Regions from separate parts of the Homo sapiens genome. Here all the other regions are linked to region 2. Evidence: promoter capture Hi-C in human tissues and cell types (Jung and others, 2019). All regions are on one chromosome and are shown on one strand. Each heading gives the region's core, a stretch centred on a gene start or on the middle of the fragment in contact. The rest is flanking DNA. Distances are from core to core; before and after follow the strand shown.

Region 1 (2,700 bases), core at 5-2,504, 210 kb after region 2:
GTTAGTCACTGCTAAAAAAAAAGGGGACTCTGTATATTAAACGAAGAGTGTTGTTTTTACCTAAATCAATCTGGCCTGGTATATGACAACATAAAAAAACTCAAAGATAGAGCCCAAAAACTTGCCAACCAAGCAAGTAATTATGCTGAACCCCCTTGGGCACTCTCTAGTTGGATGTCCTGGGTCCTCCCAATTCTTAAGTCCTTTAATACCTGTTTTTCTCCTTCTCTTATTTGGACCTTGCGTCTTCTGTTTAGTTTCTCAATTCATACAAAACCGTATCCAGGCCATCACCAATCATTCTATACAACAAATGCTCCTTCTAACAACCCCACAATATCACCTCTTACCACAGAATCTTCCTTCAGCTTAATCTCTCCCACTCTAGGTTCCCACGCCGCCCCAATCCTGCTCGAAGCAGCCCTGAGAAACGTCGCCCATTATCTTTCCATACCACCCCCAAAAATTTTCAGGGCCCCAACACTTTACCACTATTTTATTTTTCTTATTAATGTAAGAAGACAGGAATGTCAGGCCTCTGAGCCCAAGCCTGAACGTATACATCCAGATGGCCTGAAGTAACTGAAGAATCACAAAAGAAGTGAAAATGGCCGGTTCCTGCTTTAACTGATGACAATACCTTGTGAATTGAATTCCTTCTCCTGGCTCAGAAGCTCCCCGACTGAGCACCTTGTGACCCCCGCCCCTGCCCGCAAGAGAACAATCCCCTTTGACTGTAATCTTCCCCACTACCTACCCAAATCCTATAAAACTACCCCACCCCTAACTCCCTCTGCTCTCTTTTTGGACTCAGCCCGCCTGCACCCAGGTGAATAAAAAGCTTCATTGCTCTCTCCAAGCCTGTTTGGTGGTCTCTTCACACGGACGCGTGTGACAGTAATAAGGTCATTAGTGCCCTTATAAAAAGTCCTGTCCTCTGATCAAAACTATCAGAAAAAAGGAAAATTACAAAAAAGGAAAAAGAAAAAAGCCCCAGAGGGCTATCTTGCCCCCTACCATGTGAAGTTATAGCAAGACAACAAATCTGCAGACATCTTGATGTTGAATTTCCCAGACTCCAGAACCGCAAGAAATATATTTCTGTTGTTTTTAAGCTATCTGGTTTATGATAGTTTGACACAGCAGCTGAAGACTAAGATAGTATCCTTAATGACTTTTAATCATGGAGGATAAAGTATGTTGTGTGTAAGATGGAATTATGTAGCACATTTCAGAAGCATTTCAGAAGCATTTCTGAGGCTCGGTATGGTGGCTCATCCCTGTAATCATAGCACTTTGGGAGGTGAAAATGGGCAGGAGTTCAAGACCAGCCTGGCCAACATGGCAAAACCCCATCTCTGCTAAAAATACAAAAATTAGCTGAGTGTGGTGACACACGCCTGTAATTCCAGCTACTTGGGAGGCTGAGGCCTTGAGCCTGGGAGGTGGAGTTTGCAGTGAGCTGAGATTGCACCACTGCACTCCAACCGGGGTGATGGAGTGAGACTCTCTCAAAAAAAAAAAAAAAAAAGCATTTCCATCAAAAATAATCAAAGCAAAATAAAATTTGTGTAAAGTTCAAGGTCTTTAGTTATCCAGAAAAATACATTCATCCACTAATCGCTTTGTAATCACAGAGTATAACTAAACTACTACTGAGAAATGACTAATAAAGGACATTAGTGCTTAGAAATGTGACAATAGATTTTCTCAACAAAAATAAAATGTTACCAAATACAAATCTAAACATTAAATCATGGTTTCCAGATTTAGAAAGAGAGCACTAAAAAAATGACAGGTTGAGAATTAGGTGTTTTCTATCTGCTTATTTTGTGAGCAAGCTATTTCCTAAAAAGGTTTACATTTCAGTAGAGTAATAGAATTACAATCTAGGCCTCTGCTGTCTAAAACAGTAGGCAGCCACTAGCCACATGTAGCTACTGTGCACTTGAAATGTGGTTAGTCTAAATAGAGATGTGTTAAGCTTAACATACCCACTGGATTTAAAAGATTCAGTACAAACAATGGAAAGTATCTCAGTAATAATTTTTCATATTGGTTATGTGTTGAAATTATAATTTATTAAAATTAATTTCACTTTTACTTTTTAAAAAGTAAAACATCTAGTTTTTAGAAAATTTTAAATTATATCCAAGGCTTACATTCTATTTTTATTGGATTGTGCTGATCTAAACACTTCCAGTGAATGTGACTGTCAAAGTAGGTAGTTTGCATAATGGTTAGGAAATGGAGGCTAGGGGGCTTGAGATTTGTATTCAAATCTTGACATCTTCAGTGACTGTGTGAGCAAGGGCAAGTTACGTTACCTTCTGGAGTCTGTTTCCTCATCTCTTAAATAACATAGATGGTTAAGAAAAGTCTGTTGTAACACCAAAACATTTCTTCTTTTTTTTTTTTGAGACAGAGTCTCGCTCTGTCACCTGCGCTATAGTGCAGTGGCATGATCTCGGCTCACTGCGACCTCTGCCTCCCAGGTTCAAGCGATTCTCGTGCCTCAGCTTCCCGAGTAGCTGGGATTACAGTCGCCTGCCACCGCACCCAGCGAATTTTTGTATTTTTAGTAGAGATGGAGTTTCTCCATGTTGGCCAGGCTGGTCTCGAACTCCTGACCTCAGCTGATCCTCCTTCCTCGGCCTCCCAAAGTGCTGAGATTACAAGCCTGAGCCACTGTGTCCAGCC
Region 2 (2,700 bases), core at 142-2,641:
ATACTAAGTTATTTAACTCCTATTTAATGTATGTTTTATAATGTGCATTACAATTTGTATAGTAGTATTCATGTTTAAATTACAAATAAACCAATGTAGGGAGTAAGTGATCAAACCTCTTCTACTGATAGAAATGCAAAATAAAGAAAGTTTGGAGCTAAAGCTCTAGAGACACACTTAGAAGCCACACATACTCTTTCTTTGAATTTTTCTTCTTCAACTTTTGGCAAACTTGTCTGTCAAGACCATGAACAAAGGCAACTTTTTCTTGGTTTTCCTGATTGCCCCATCAGGAAGAGTGCTGGTAGCTTCCCTTTGTGTACCTCTCACTATAACCCTTTAACTGGTTTATGCACAACTCACCACTCTCACCCTCCAAACTGCTGCACGGCCACCAAAGGAAAGGAACCAAATGGAATCAGAAAATACTAGACCTTTTTTTACTCAATGCACCTCCCCTAGAAAGCCTTCCTGATCACGCTAGGCTTAGAGAGGTGGTTATTGTCTCAGTGATCCCAAACTACCTTTTTCATTCAAACCTCTAGTAGAGCACATCTCACACTGTAATCGTTTGTGGTTTACACGACTGTCTCCCCTGCTTTCTGGGAGGATACAAAGGGCAGAGCTGACTTCCAGTCATCTTTGTACACGTGTGCACATGGCACACATAATTGGGAAATGAATGAATATGATACATTTAGCTGACACTGAAGTGGAGGAAAACTTTGAACGTTTTAAAATCAGCACCTTACTGGTAACTAGGGCATCTGTGCTGTGCTTCCAGTTCACCAAGAGCCCAGATCCCTGTGTCTCAATCTCTTTAAAAAGACAAAGAAGGACTTTAAAATAATCTGTAAACTCTGCTCTAAGATCCCATATATGTAGAAAGTTCAGGCCATTCTCCTGCTTCCCATAGTGTTCCGAATGCTCAGCACTTTAAAATCTCAATTGGATTTTTGCATTTCCAAGTCACGCTCCACGTTTGCGATTCTGAGCCTGGGTCTGACCCAAATATGACAGTTCATACAGTTTCCTACTGCAAGAGCTGGGAAAACAGCGATCTACCTTTCGTGTTAAACCAGGCTTCAGCAGCGCCGCTCACCTGGCCACGTCTGCCCTGTTCATCGCTGTACCCGCAGATACCCGGCTCCGTGCCACGCACGAATGGTCAGGGGTATGAGACAAAGAAGCGGCTCTACATCGGGCGGCTTCTGAGAGTCACGGGGACCGCGCCGCCTGCCGCCGGGAAGAAGCGCGGTCCTGGCCAGCGTCGGCGACCCGAGCTCCGGCCGCGCCTCCCTCCGCGTCTCGGCCCACTCGCGGTGGCACTCGGCACCGAAGCCGGACACTCTACTGCCCGTTAGACCAAAAACAATGGCCGAGCCGGAAGCGAGAGAGGCCTCGACTTCCGCCCCCTCCGGGATCCCGGAAGTCTCGTTTGCGAAGGTGGGCGCGCGCGTCCCCGCACCCGGGAGAGCTGGCAGGGCTTACTTCTCGGCTGTGCCCGGCCACCTGCCGCGGGCGGGGTCGGGGTCTCGCGAGGGCCCAGGCCACTCACATCCCGCTCTCAGGCCATAGTCGGGGGATCCAGACGCGTCCCAGCTCTACACCTTCTCCTCCAGGTGTCCTTGGGAAAGATACCCAACCTCCAAGCCTGTTTTCTCATCTGAAAAAAATGCAGAGCATAATGCGTACCTCACAGGGCTGGGAGCACCGCATGAGGTTAACAGACACTACATAGCAAAAGGCCTGGCATATCCTGAGCAGTCAGTTATACCATGTGTGATGCCCAATCTGAAGTCTCAGTGAAGGGAGCAGCAAGCATCTCCCATCTTAAAAATGAAGAAGCATGTCTAGAAATTGTGATATTTTGGCCCATAAATGTGGTTAATATTTCGTAAGACAGCACCAGCATTCTGGTGTCCATGTAGAGGTTCCTAGGGAGACCAAGAAGCAGATAAACTGAGAAGGTGTGGGGACAGTTTGTAACCTAGTAGGCAGTTGTCTAGCCTCTGGGTGGCAGGTGGTACCCAGGTGACTTTCACTTTGAAGAATGGTTTGCATACAGAAGGAGGATATGAACTGGTCCTTGTTACAAACATGGTTGAGCAGGCCCTGTGTGTTAATGACCACGGGTGAAGGGCAAAGGGTGTGATGAAGTTAACTGTGTATCTTTATTATAGCACAGGAGATAGGTCCTTTACAGGGCCCAAAGTAAACAGTCTCCTGGACTGTCTAGGGATGGCAATATTTCAAAGGTGCCCTGGGCCTAACCCTGGCCCTGACATATGTTCCTCATATATCTGTGTGAGCCAAGATAGAAACAAAGACACCAGAAGTCCTGCTCCAGAGTTTCCACAAGCTTAAAAGTAATCTCTTGGAGCAATCTTTGTCCATTGATCCTAATGGTGGTTTCCTGTCATCAAGGTCCCCCTCTCCATTTGGAAATCTCACAAGGAGGTTTTGGCTATTTAAAACCAGGAACCCCAGCCTCTGCCTGACATTGATGCTAGACATTGCCTACTGGCAAATCAAGGCCTCAGAAGCTTAGGATTCTTGAGGTGGAAGGCAAATCAAGGCCCCAGAAGCTTAGGATTCTTGAGGAGGAAATCTCCCAAGGCCAGGCTAAATGCTCTCAGACCTGATTTTCAGGTCTCCTTGACCACGTGTTGTCCTGCAGTCCTGGCTTCCTATTATAGG
Region 3 (2,700 bases), core at 187-2,686, 130 kb before region 2:
GGTAGTGATGAATTCTCTCAGCGTTTGTTTGTCTGAAAAAGATTGTATCTTTCCTTCATTTAGGAAGCTAAGTTTCACTGTATACAAAATTCTTGCCTGATAATTGTTTTGTTTAGGAGGCTAAACATAGAACCCCAATCCCTTATAGCTTGTAGGGTTTCTGCTCAGAAATCTGCTGTTAATCTGATAGGGTTTCCTTTATAGGTTCCTGATGTTTTTGTCTCACAGCTCTTAAGATTCTTTCCTTAGTCTTGACTTTAGATAACCTGATGAGTGTGTGCCTAGGCAATGATCTTTTTGCAATGAATTTCCCAGGTGTTCTTTGAGCTTCTTGTATTTGGATGTCTAGATCTCTAGCAAGACCAGGGAAGTTTTTCTCAATTATTACCTCTAATATGTTTTCCAAGATTTTAGATTTCTTGTCTTCCTTGGGAACAACAATTATTCATAGGTTTGGTCATTTTACATAATCCCAAATTTCTTAGAAGTTTTGTTCATTTTTTAAAATTCTCTTTTCTTGGTCTTTGATGAACTGGGTTAATTTGAAAGGCTTGTCTTTGAGCTCTGATATTCTTTTCCTTCTTGTTTGAGTCTATTGCTGAGACTTTCCAGTGCATTTCCAATTCTCTAAATGTGTCCTTGATTTCCAGAAGTTGTAATTTTTATTTATGCTACCTATTTCACTGGAGAGTTTCCCCTTCATATACTGTATCATTTAAAAAATTTTTTTTAAGTTGGACCTCATCTTTCTCTGATGCCTGCTTGGTTGGCTTAATAGTTGACTGTCTGAATTCTTTTTCTGGCAATTCACAGATTTTGTCTTGGTTTGGATCCATTGCTGGTGAGCTGGTGTGAAAGTAGTGAAAGTACAGCTACACCATAGACAAAGTAGGGTGTCCCTGAAAGTAAGAGGAAGAAAGTGTCCACCCTAGGTGCAATGATCATATATATGGGGAGATGTGCTCTGTCTGCTACAAGGGTTTGTGATGTAGGATTAATTTTTTAATTACTATATTTTGCAAGAAAGGATATTATTATTATTATTACTATTTTCAAGATAGAGTTTCACTCTTATTGCCCAGGCTAGAGTGCAATGGTATGATCTTGGCTCACTGTAACCTCCGCCTCCTGGGTTCAGGAGATTCTCGGCCTCAGCCTCCTGAGTAGCTGGGATTACAGGTGCACGCCACCACATCTGGCTAATTTTTGTATTCTTAGTAGAGACAGGGTTTTGCCATGTTGGCCAGTCTGGTCTCAAACTCCTGACCTCAGGTGATCCATCCACCTTGGCCTCCCATCATGCTGGGATTACAGGTGTGAGAAAGCCACCATGCCCAGCCTTTTAAGGGAAGGTTTTTTTTTTGGTTTTTTGTTTGTTTGTTTGTTTCTTTTTGAGACAGAGTCTCACTCTGTTGCCCAGGCTGGAGTGCAGTGGTGTGATCTTGGCTCACTGCAACCTCTGCCTCCCAGGTTCAAGATTCTTCTGCCTCAGCCTCCCAAGTAGCAGGACTACAGGCGCGCACCACCATACCCAGCTCATTTTTTTTTTGTATTTTTAGTAGAGACAGGGTTTCACCATATTGGCCAGGCTGGTCTCGAACTCCTGACCTCGTGATTCACCTGCCTCGGCCTTCCGAAGTGCTGGGATTACAGGTGTGAGCCACTGCACCCGCCAAGGGAATGTTTTATGGCCTGCTTCAGGGGAGAATCATGGGAGAAGGTCAGAGAGACCATCTTGCTTCTGCTGTTTTCTCAAATGGCAAGGTGCCATATTTTATGATAGTGTTTCATGAATCCTATCTCAGCCAACGAAGAATAGATAACCTAATTTTCCCCAAGAGTCTGAAAATGTTAAACTTTACCTGAGTCTGCTCTCCTGGAAAACAGTGACAATTAAAAATCCCCACACCCTTTAGTGTTCTAGGAAATGACTTCCTGCAAAGAGCCATCCTTCCCCATATGACTTAGATGAGACTCACAGATAGCCCCACCCCCTTGTTTGTCTAGACACAGACCCTCCAGATGATTTGCTTTACAAGTGATTAACTGAACTGTTTGTACCCATGACCAATTTGGACAGCATACCTGCTAATTTAACTTGACCAAGCTTTAGTTAAGCTCCTCTCCCTCCCCTAGGTCCTTAAGTTTTGACCTATCTTCGGCCTGAGCCAGTAATGAGATGTAGAACAACCCCTCCTTATTATAAGAACATGTGATGGTTAATTTTAGGTGTCAACTTGACTGGGTTAAGGAATACCCAGATAACTGGTAAAGCACTATTTTGGATGTATGTCTGTGAGAGTGTTCCTGGAAGAGATTGGCATTTGAATCTGTGTTCTGAGTAAGGAAAATGTGCCCTCACACAACATGGGTGGGCACCATCCAAAGGGCTGAGAGCCCAGGTAGAACAAAAAGAGAGAGGTGAATTCACTCTCTCTCTCCTGGAGCTGGGACACCCATCTTCTCCTGGACCTGTGAGACAGGAGTAGCACTGGGTAGTCACAGGAGTATGGAAAAACCTGAACAACAGTTAAAATAAGAACTAGGCAAAGAAACCACAGGATAACAGAAAACTCAAAATAAGGGAGAGAAAATGGCCAAAACCCTGGTCAGGCTGACATGTCCATGACTCTTCTTGGCAAACCCAAATAAGGGAGAAAGGGGGTGGTAATGGGGGGAATAGGGGGCTGGGAGGAGTCT

The links. The method cuts DNA at HindIII sites, captures the fragments that hold promoters and counts their contacts. A contact is called where the count stands out against the background at its distance.
Region 1: a contact is called between a fragment that was not itself captured here and the fragment with the promoter of ZKSCAN7 in region 2, in 1 of the 25 tissues and cell types used here (H1 embryonic stem cells).
Region 3: a contact is called between a fragment that was not itself captured here and the fragment with the promoter of ZKSCAN7 in region 2, in 1 of the 25 tissues and cell types used here (spleen).

The regions. Positions count from the first base shown.
Region 1 is chr3:44,342,855-44,345,554 of GRCh38, reverse strand. The region is part of intron 1 of TCAIM (T cell activation inhibitor, mitochondrial); the gene reads right to left. Among named protein-coding and RNA genes, the nearest start is that of TCAIM, 5.4 kb to the right of the region's middle. The HindIII fragment of the contact is 6,194 bases long and covers 1-2,700 here.
Region 2 is chr3:44,553,884-44,556,583 of GRCh38, reverse strand. It overlaps ZKSCAN7 (zinc finger with KRAB and SCAN domains 7), which reads right to left and starts at 1,391. Exons shown (of 6, transcript NM_001288590.2): 1 at 1,103-1,391. RefSeq lists silencers at 1,338-1,477, 1,588-1,637. The HindIII fragment of the contact is 4,885 bases long and covers 1-2,700 here.
Region 3 is chr3:44,688,213-44,690,912 of GRCh38, reverse strand. No RefSeq gene overlaps it. Among named protein-coding and RNA genes, the nearest start is that of ZKSCAN7-AS1, 3.9 kb to the right of the region's middle. The HindIII fragment of the contact is 6,943 bases long and covers 1-2,700 here.